Regions from separate parts of the Homo sapiens genome. Here regions 1 and 2 are each linked to region 3. Evidence: promoter capture Hi-C in human tissues and cell types (Jung and others, 2019). All regions are on one chromosome and are shown on one strand. Each heading gives the region's core, a stretch centred on a gene start or on the middle of the fragment in contact. The rest is flanking DNA. Distances are from core to core; before and after follow the strand shown. Region 1 holds the start of GNAZ (G protein subunit alpha z). Region 2 overlaps BCR (BCR activator of RhoGEF and GTPase). Region 3 holds the start of RAB36 (RAB36, member RAS oncogene family).

The links. The method cuts DNA at HindIII sites, captures the fragments that hold promoters and counts their contacts. A contact is called where the count stands out against the background at its distance.
Region 1: the fragment with the promoter of GNAZ here is called in contact with the fragment with the promoter of RAB36 in region 3 in 4 of the 25 tissues and cell types used here (adrenal gland, dorsolateral prefrontal cortex, lymphoblastoid cells and 1 more).
Region 2: a fragment that was not itself captured here is called in contact with the fragment with the promoter of RAB36 in region 3 in 14 of the 25 tissues and cell types used here (IMR-90 fibroblasts, aorta, bladder and 11 more).

What each region holds. Positions count from the first base shown.
Region 1 is chr22:23,069,041-23,071,791 of GRCh38, reverse strand. GNAZ (G protein subunit alpha z) reads right to left here and starts at 1,273. Exons shown (of 3, transcript NM_002073.4): 1 at 1,222-1,273. All of the region lies in intron 4 of RSPH14 (radial spoke head 14 homolog), which reads left to right. RefSeq lists an enhancer at 1-572 and silencers at 1,179-1,318, 1,459-1,598. The HindIII fragment of the contact is 23,611 bases long and covers 1-2,751 here.
Region 2 is chr22:23,230,236-23,232,973 of GRCh38, reverse strand. The region is part of intron 1 of BCR (BCR activator of RhoGEF and GTPase); the gene reads right to left. Among named protein-coding and RNA genes, the nearest start is that of BCR, 51 kb to the right of the region's middle. The HindIII fragment of the contact is 9,635 bases long and covers 1-2,738 here.
Region 3 is chr22:23,144,048-23,146,911 of GRCh38, reverse strand. It overlaps RAB36 (RAB36, member RAS oncogene family), which reads right to left and starts at 1,435. Exons shown (of 11, transcript NM_004914.5): 1 at 1,361-1,435; 2 at 227-307. The coding sequence starts at 295. It also overlaps a transcript of RSPH14 not described here. RefSeq lists a silencer at 1,613-1,682. The HindIII fragment of the contact is 15,551 bases long and covers 1-2,864 here.

The DNA.
Region 1 (2,751 bases), core at 24-2,523, 75 kb after region 3:
CTCCAGTTCAAATGTCATGTTGCCCACGAGCTCACCTGACCCCCCAGCCCAGGACACCACTCTGAGGTCCCTCCCGAGGCCCCTGCACCTGCACTCAAGCGGGGTTGGTCGAGTAGAGACGTTTTCCCCTATGCGGTGGTCAATCAGTCCTGGGAGGGCAGGCCCAGTCCACTCCCACCCGGTGCACCCCAGCGTCAAGCTCTGGGGGAGTGACCACTCAATAAATATTTGCTTAATTGAATTTGGCCAAGGAGCCTTCTCCAGAGAGCTCAATCCCCAGGGCAGGGAAATCACTTGGGCAGAAAGGAGCCGGTCAGGGGCTCAGCTGTCTCCCCAAGCAAGACAGACCTCTCTACCAGGCGGGTCCCTCCACCCCAACACGGACTACGCGGAACGCTGGTCTCGCTTGGCATCATCCTCTTGTCTCAGTTAACAGGAGCCCCCATTCTCGGCCTAGGCCGAATCCTGCCATCATCACCCAGGAAGGCTCAGCACCGCCCTAAAGGCAGAGCCCCCTCGGATCGCCCGCAGGATACGGAGCGCCAGCCCTGAGGCCCTCACTCCCCTCCCCCAAACACCCCCACCGCCTTTTAAGGGAAAAAATATTGAGCCGGGAACGTATTACAATCGCAGCAGGTCGATACTCATCTCTTCCTCTAAATGCCTGTGAGGAACCTGCTCGCTGCAAGAGCAGTGACCGAGAACTGCTAGCTGTCCGTCTGCGGGCCCAGGTCCTCGGGCCCAGGCCTCTGGGGCCCTCTCCTCGGTTTCAGGCAAGGCCCTGCATCGGCTCCGGCCGCCCCTCCCTGATCCTCCCCCTAGGGAGACCCGCCTCAGCGCCGCTCCCGCAGCTCGCCTGGCCCGCCCGGGCTCCGCATCAGCCGCTGCTTGGGGGCGCCCGGCGGCCCCGCGCGGCATCCCCGGCGCCCTCTGTCCACCCTCCCGGGTCCTCAACCGCCCCCTCCCGCGGGGTCATCGGCTTGGCGGCGCATCCCTCCCCCAGCACCTGCCCGACCAGAGGCCGCCCCCTGCCCACCTCGCAGGCGTCCCCGCCCTTGGTGTCCCCCACCCCTGAGGGGCATCCCTGACGCTGCGTCCTGGCGGATCCGGGGCACAAAGGCCTGGGAAGAGTCCCAAGTGGGGGCAAGGTGGATGCCCCGGCCGTGCCCCCGACCCCTGAGGCTCAGCGGCGCGCGGCCGGCCGCGGGTCGGCTCACTCACCTCCGGGCCGCAGCACAGAGCATCTGCCGAGCTGCTCCGGGCAGGGCGGGGCGGGGCGGGGCGGCGAGCACGGGGCCGCGGCGCCCTCGTTCCGTACGACGCGGGCAGCGGCGCCCACGCGGGGACGTGACCGGACCGCGGGCGGCGCACACGCTCCGGCCGGCCTGGTTCCCTCCGCCCGCCCTCCCGCGCCGCCCGCCGCCCGCCGCCCGCCGCCAGTCCGCGGGTCCGCCCGCCCCGCGCCGCGCCGCCGCCGGCAGGGGGCGGAGCCGCGAGCGCAGCCCGTTGCCAGGCCAACCGCGGGCGGGGGGGTGCCGCGCGCCCGCCGGGCACCACGCGCCGGGCACCTCCGCCCCGCCACGAGCGCCGGCCCTCTGTCCATTGGGCACAGGCAGCTGACGGACGGGCCAGTAGCCCAATGGGGACGGACAGGGGCGGGGTCGCAGCTCCGCGCGCGCCGCAGTCCCGCAAGAGCTCCCCGCGCCGGCGTTCCACCGACTCCGCTGCGCTGAGGCCTGGTAGCCGAGCCCCAGGGGCCACCTCTGGCAGCCCGGGAAACCAAGCCTGAGCCCAGCCATGGTCCTGGCCCTCTTTACTGCAGCCAGTCCCGGCTCGCCTTCTCTCCACTCGGGTTCAAACCCAGTTCGGCCTCTTGTGAGCTCTACGTCCTTGGGCAACCGACTGACCTCTCTCAGCCTTTCTGTTTGCAAAGTGGGGCTAGTGGCACCTGCTTTCCTGGATTGTCTCACCAATCCTTCAGAACGTGTGAAAGGCCTATGCAAACCCTAACGATTTACACCGGTGAGGTTTGTGCAGCGATGGGAGGGAGCATTAGTCATCTCTGCCGCCGCCCCCCGCCGCCACCGCCCAGTGTCTAGGGGCTCTTTGGCGTCCCTGGCAATCCTGGCACACGGAAGGGTGGCCTTGGGAGGGAAGGAAGGGAGAAGGACCGAGGAGCTGGCCCCCAGCCCAGACAAGCGTGAGAGAGCCAGTTCAGTTAAGGCCACTGATTGGCGCTTTTGGGAAGCTGGTGGAAAGCATCAGACCCTCAGCAAAACGCAGCTGAACCCAGGCTGCAAAATTCTGTTTTCAATTTCAAAGCCTATCTGTGGACCTCAGGGCCAGGAGTCCCTCAGTTCCATGCTTAAAAGACTCTCAAGCCAGAGGGCCAAGACATGAATGCTCCTGTCTCTCTTCTCCATCTTTGTAAATCTGAAGCTTTGTGTATCCTAGAGCATCCCTGACAAAGTGCAAATGCCTTCCCAGCTAACGCGTTCCTTATCACCTCACACCTTTGTAAGGTGTGGATCATGCCATTCTTTGAGCAGCAGCCCTGGACCTGACCATGGCAGAGGTCCATGGAGCGGTCTCTCCATCATAGCTCTGTGGTGGAGGGGCAGGGGCATGTGCCTGGCTTTGCCAGCTGGACACTGTGGCATCTCAGCATCATCCCATAACCTCCCTAGGAATGTTTCCTCTTCTGTGAGATGGAGACCATTGCGTTACGTACCTGCAGGGTCATGGGCCACC
Region 2 (2,738 bases), core at 135-2,634, 86 kb before region 3:
CCACCTCGCAGAAAAATGTCTCAGCCTATGTGTGTGCACACACAGATGTGGCATTTGCATTTACCCAACAAAGCCTAACCCAGCTTCTCTCTCATCTTTGCCAAATGGATCCAGAACAGGGGCTCCATGGTCTGGCCTGACCACATCAGGCCTTCTGACTGCTACAGATGGTTTGTAAATAAGGCCTTCCTACATGAATGCGACACGGCAGCATTCATTCCATCTCTCTGATCCTGCCATCTCACCTGAAGGAGGAGGCAGATGGGGCCGCCCATGCTCACGGGTGCAGCAGGTAGGCTCGCTGATAAGCCACAGAAGCCAGTGAGCATCCCAGCTGGGCCAGAACCTGGATCTGCAATAGGCTCTGTTGGACCCCAGGGTCCTGCCTTTCCAGGTGGGGAACCCCACCAAGATGCTGGTCAGGTAAAGGGTGGTGCTCTGGGTCCTGTCTCCAACCCACTCTGGTGCACCCCCCACTCCCAAAGAGCCAGGCACCCTCTCTGACAGGCCTGAGGTCCCCCTACCCTTGTGCCAGTAGTGCTGCTGGCTCCCAAGCAGCAGAATTCATGAGCTGGGCAGTGCAGACCTTGGTTCAAACCCAGCCCTACCACTGCCCAGGTGGGTGACCTTAGCACGTTACTTAATGTCTCTGGGACCCAGGCTTCTTGTCAATAAAAAGTGGATTCGGCTGGTCAGCCAGGACACCCCGAGTCCCTGTGAGGTGCTAGGCACCGTGCTTTACAGCACCCAGAACAGTGCCTGCCTAGAGCACTTGGGGTCCTGGGTCCTATCATCCCTACTGGGCCAGGAGCTCTAAAACCAGCAGGCCCTGTCCTTGGCCAAACACTGGGTCTCCAGGCTTCCAACAACCATGGAAGCAAGAAAGCAACAGAAAATTAGAGGATCACACTAAGGTATTAGTTACTACATGGAGAGCAAGCCCCTGGGCTGGGAGGCTGGAGAGACAAGACAGGGCAGGGCCTGAGGGATGAGCTGCCTTGGGACAGGCTGAGGGTACCCAAAGTTAACAGGCAGGCAAGACAGGGCCAGGGGAACCAAGGAGTGGAGCAGGGCCAAGAAAGAGAACAGGAAGACCCCAAAGCCTGAGACGTGCCACCCCCCAACACCTGCAGCTCCAAACAAAATTCTCCCACTAAAAACGGGGCATAAAGGTTGGGCGTAGGCACGGGTGGGGACATAACTCACAGGCCCATTTGCTCCATGAGCCTGGCCAGATGGTGCCCAAGTATCCAGGGAAGGATGAACTTCACATTCCTGTAGGATTCCATGCCTCCTCCACACAAGCTGGGTCAGGGAGGGGCAGCCTAAGTGGCAGGCAGAGCACAGCCAGCTCAGGCATGGCCCAAGTCCATGGGCCTTTTAACACCATGGCTCCAGCCAGCACAGGCTGTTGGTATTTTATTTATTTTATTTTATTTTATTTTATTTTATTTTATTTTATTTTATGAGACGGGGTCTTGCTCTGTTGGCTAGGCTGGAGTGCAGTGGCATGAACATGGCTCACCATTGCCTCAAACTCCTGGGGCTCAAGCAATCTTCCTGACTCAGCCTCCTGAATAGCTGGGACTACAGGCGTGCACTACCACATCCAGCTAATTTTATTTTTTTATAGAGACGGAGTCTCACTAGGTTGCCCAGGCTGGTCTCAAACTCCTGGCCTCAAGTGATCTTCCCGCCTTGGCCTCTCAAAACACTGGGATTACGAGCAAGCCACCATGCCCTGGTCTAATTTTAGAAAGGCACCCAGGTGTCCCTATGCAGCAGCAGAGGAAGGGAATTGTCTCAAAAACAAAATCCCTTCTTTCCCATTAGGAAAAAAGGGCAGCTTCCATTTCCCGAGCATCTACCACATGCCAAACTGTTTACTGCTAATCCCAACACAGCACTATAAGGTTTCTACAATAACTCTCATTTGATGGAGGGGGAAATAAGACACAGAAAGAAACCATAACTGGCCTGGTGCATGGTGAGGGTGAGTCGGGCCCCGTTAGATGGTTCGGGATACTGTGCCCTCTACTCCACCTGTGGCCCCGGGGCCACATTCCCTGAAGGAACGCTATGTGTCCAAAACAACTGCGTGGGATGGGTTCTCTAGGAAATGACAGCTGGATGTGCGGCTGGGGAGCAGGCTGGTGGCAAGTGAGGCCTGGCATGCAGGACAGGCAATGTTTGGGATCTTCTGGACATTTCCAAAGATCTTTATGCACCAGTGGCCTGAAGGCTTTCTCTCCCTGGAAATGCAGGCAGGCCCTTCAGTGAACATGCAGATGGCCATGCCTACCCTGCAAAGACCATTAAGACAGAGACAATGGAATTTGATAGAAGGGTCTGAAGCAAAGCAGACAATGAGCAAACCCTGGGACACTGCTGAATAAACCAGCAGGAGGCAGAGAGAGGTGCTTTGCCTGGAAAAAACAAACACCAGGAAGGCCCAGCAGGCAGGCCTGCATCCGCAGTGTGTGTATCAGCTTAGCCCTGTTGGGGCGGGGGTCTTGGGAGGGGCCGCAGGAAAGTTACTGGGTGGGCTGAGGTGATCAGTATGGGCCACCACCCTCAGAATGCTGTCTAAGGGCAGTAGTGGTCTATCCCAGGGAACATCACCACACACAGAGAGAAGGACGTCTAAATGTAGAAGTTGGAACTTCCAATTCCAGGCAAGATGGAAAAAGCACACTACAGCCTTTCCCACTATCCACAGGTACAAATTCTGCATGAAA
Region 3 (2,864 bases), core at 186-2,685:
ATCCCAGCCCTTATAACCTCCAGGCCACACTGCTGCCCAGTGTCACCATTAACTTGCGGTCCCACCTTGGGCAGTCAGTGACCAGTCTCCCAGCTCCTCAAGGTAAATCTGACAATGGACAGACCTCCTTGATTCACCTGCTTTACTTCTAGGCATGAGTGTAGAGTGGGGAGAGCTGATGTGGCTGCAGGGCCAGGAGAGCACTGCAGACGTAATGACTCTCTACCTTAGGGAAGCTGGCGATGACACGGTCGCGGCTCACAGGGGGCCCCAAAGGTGTCAGGGAGGACCTCATTCTTCCACAGTCCTGTGGACCCAACCAGGAGAAAGACAGTTAAGGAGCTGTGCAAATACCTGGGGATTCACCCATGAGTTTCCACCTAACTTTTCATCAGATCCAGGCTGGGTGCAGTGGCTCATGCCTGTAATCCCAGCACTTTGGGAGGCCAAGGTGGGAGGATCACTTGGGCCCAGGAGGTTGAGACCAGCCTGGGCAACAAAGTGAAACCTCAGTCTCTACAAAAAAAAACCAAAAAAATTAGCAGGGCATGGTGGCCTGTGCCTGCAGTCCCAGCTACTTGGGAGGAAGGTGGGAGGAATGCTTGAGCCTGGGAGGTCAAGGGTGCAGTGAACCGTGAAGGTGCCACTGCACTCCAGCCTGGGTGATAGAGTAAGACCTTGTCTCAAGAATTATAAATAAAACCAGATCCAGGCTTCCCTCTCTGTCAGGAATATGGGGCAGAGGCCATTTCTCTCAATCTGCATACAGCAGGCAGCATGGTATGGGGGAACCAGGCCTGCCCCACCCTGCCTGGGAGTCAGAAGACCTGGGTCTCCCCTTGACAGGTGTCTACCAAGGAGGAGCTCCCCTCTGAGCTTACCTTACTGGGCTGTGAGGCATGGCACAGCTCAGGCAGTGGAAGTAGAGTGGGGAGGGGTCTCCTGCTCCCAGTCTGCAAAGGACGAAGGCTCTAGGTGGGCCTGGGGGCCTTAACTTTCAGCCAACTAGGCCTTTTCCCTGAAAACCCTCACTTCACCAGGCCTCTGACTCCTCGAGCCTCCTCAACAGCCCCTCTGTCTCCTTTTTCTGTCCGGACTCCTCTCCAGGCTGGGCTGGGGTGGTCCTGGCGGAGTCCGGTTGTCTTCCCGCATCTGACCTGGCTCTCCTCCACAACCAGCGCGGGCCTGGCCCAGAGTTTGCGCTCCGGAAATGAGGACGCCCCGGGGCCGCAGGCCGCTTTCAAGTTATAGGGGCGGGAAGTGGGCGCGGACGCTGTGCCCTCGCGGCCCTGGCCTCGGGATGTGCCAGCACGGGGTTGGGTGACCGGGAGGGTCGGACAGAGTGGGCGAGCTGACTCACCAGCGATGGCTGTGAAAGCTGGGGCTCCGCGCGGCCTGGTCCGCCTGAGCCAGCGGCGGCGATCACCATGGCAACGAGAGCCACGCGGGACCTGCGGGCTACACGAATCGTCGACGTCGTGGGCGGGGTCTGCGTTGGACTGGCAGCGGCGCGTCCAAGCATCCAGCTTGCACCGGCGATCACCATAGCAACGAGAACCTGCCTGGAGTCTGGGCGGGGCTGGCAGCAGAGAGACTCCTGGACACCCTGGAGAGCCGGAGATCACCATGACAACAAGGGCGGTGCTGGATGGGTGGGCGGTGGGCGGGGCTATGGAGGCCCGGGGGCGGAGCCTGAGCCCTGGGTGGGGCTGACCGTGGAGAGATTCGCGCAGGTTCTGGTGATCAGCTCGGCTGGGAGAGGTTGGGCGGTTATGGCATAAGAGCTCCTGATGTGGTATTGATGTTTAATTGGAGTCAAGCACCCTGCAGCTGCAGAAGATAGACCTGCCTACCATCTACTGACCTTAGTCTGCATAGTTCTGAATCCAGTGCTGTCTGAATATCATATGCCTGGCTTCTAGAGCTCACGGTACAAAATTAATTTCCTTAATAAAAAGCTGACCTGAGTCAGTGATTTCCTCTGAACTAGTTTCGGTTTGGAAAGTTAGCTGTTTTGGGCTAGATGGCCTCTTGTGGCCCTTATAAAACCGTGGAACCAGCTTCGAAGTCCGGGGTTCAGTTTGAGAACCTACTTAATTCAGCTCCTTAACTTTTCTGCATCACAATATGGAAGCCTTGGTACACAGATCTAACTCAGTCATCTTCAATTCAAAGCTAAGTGTGCTGGAGGCTGGTGTTTGATGTCTTTTTTTTTTTTTTTTAAAGAGATGGAGTCTTGCTATGTTGTCCAGGCTGGACTCGAACTCCTAGGCTCAAGGAATCCTCCCGCCTCAGCCTCCCCAGTCCTTGGGACTACAGGCAAGGGCCACCACACCTGGCTCTGTTTAATGTCTTTTAGTGAGTTTCACTGCTAAGGTTGAGGCTTAGGGGGTGAACTTAGGTGAGTTGTTCCACCTTCCGCACCTCAGTTTACTCAACTATAAAATAAACGCAACTATCTATTTCAATGGATCACCTGAGATGGTGAAAGTGCTTTTATACTGTAAAGCTTGATTCAAGTCCATTAACTATTCATTTGTCCTACATGTACTGAAAGCTTCCTGGTATATGCCTAGCACTGGGGAGACAAGGAAAGAGAACGGACATGGTGTCCACCCTCAGGGAAATTGGAGTCCACTGCGGGAAGCAGAGAAGTAAATAGAGAATTAGGGGAAGGGAGTGTGCCAATGGGATTTAGGAGAAGGGAAGATTAAGCTGTGGGGTCACTTACTAATTTGGATTTGGGGATTTGGCAGGAGCTAGAGATCACCCTGAACTCCTCCTTTAGCTGTTTTTTTTTTTTTTTTTTTTTTTTTTTTGAGATGGAGTCTCACTCTGTCGCCCAGGCTGGAGTGCAGTAGTGT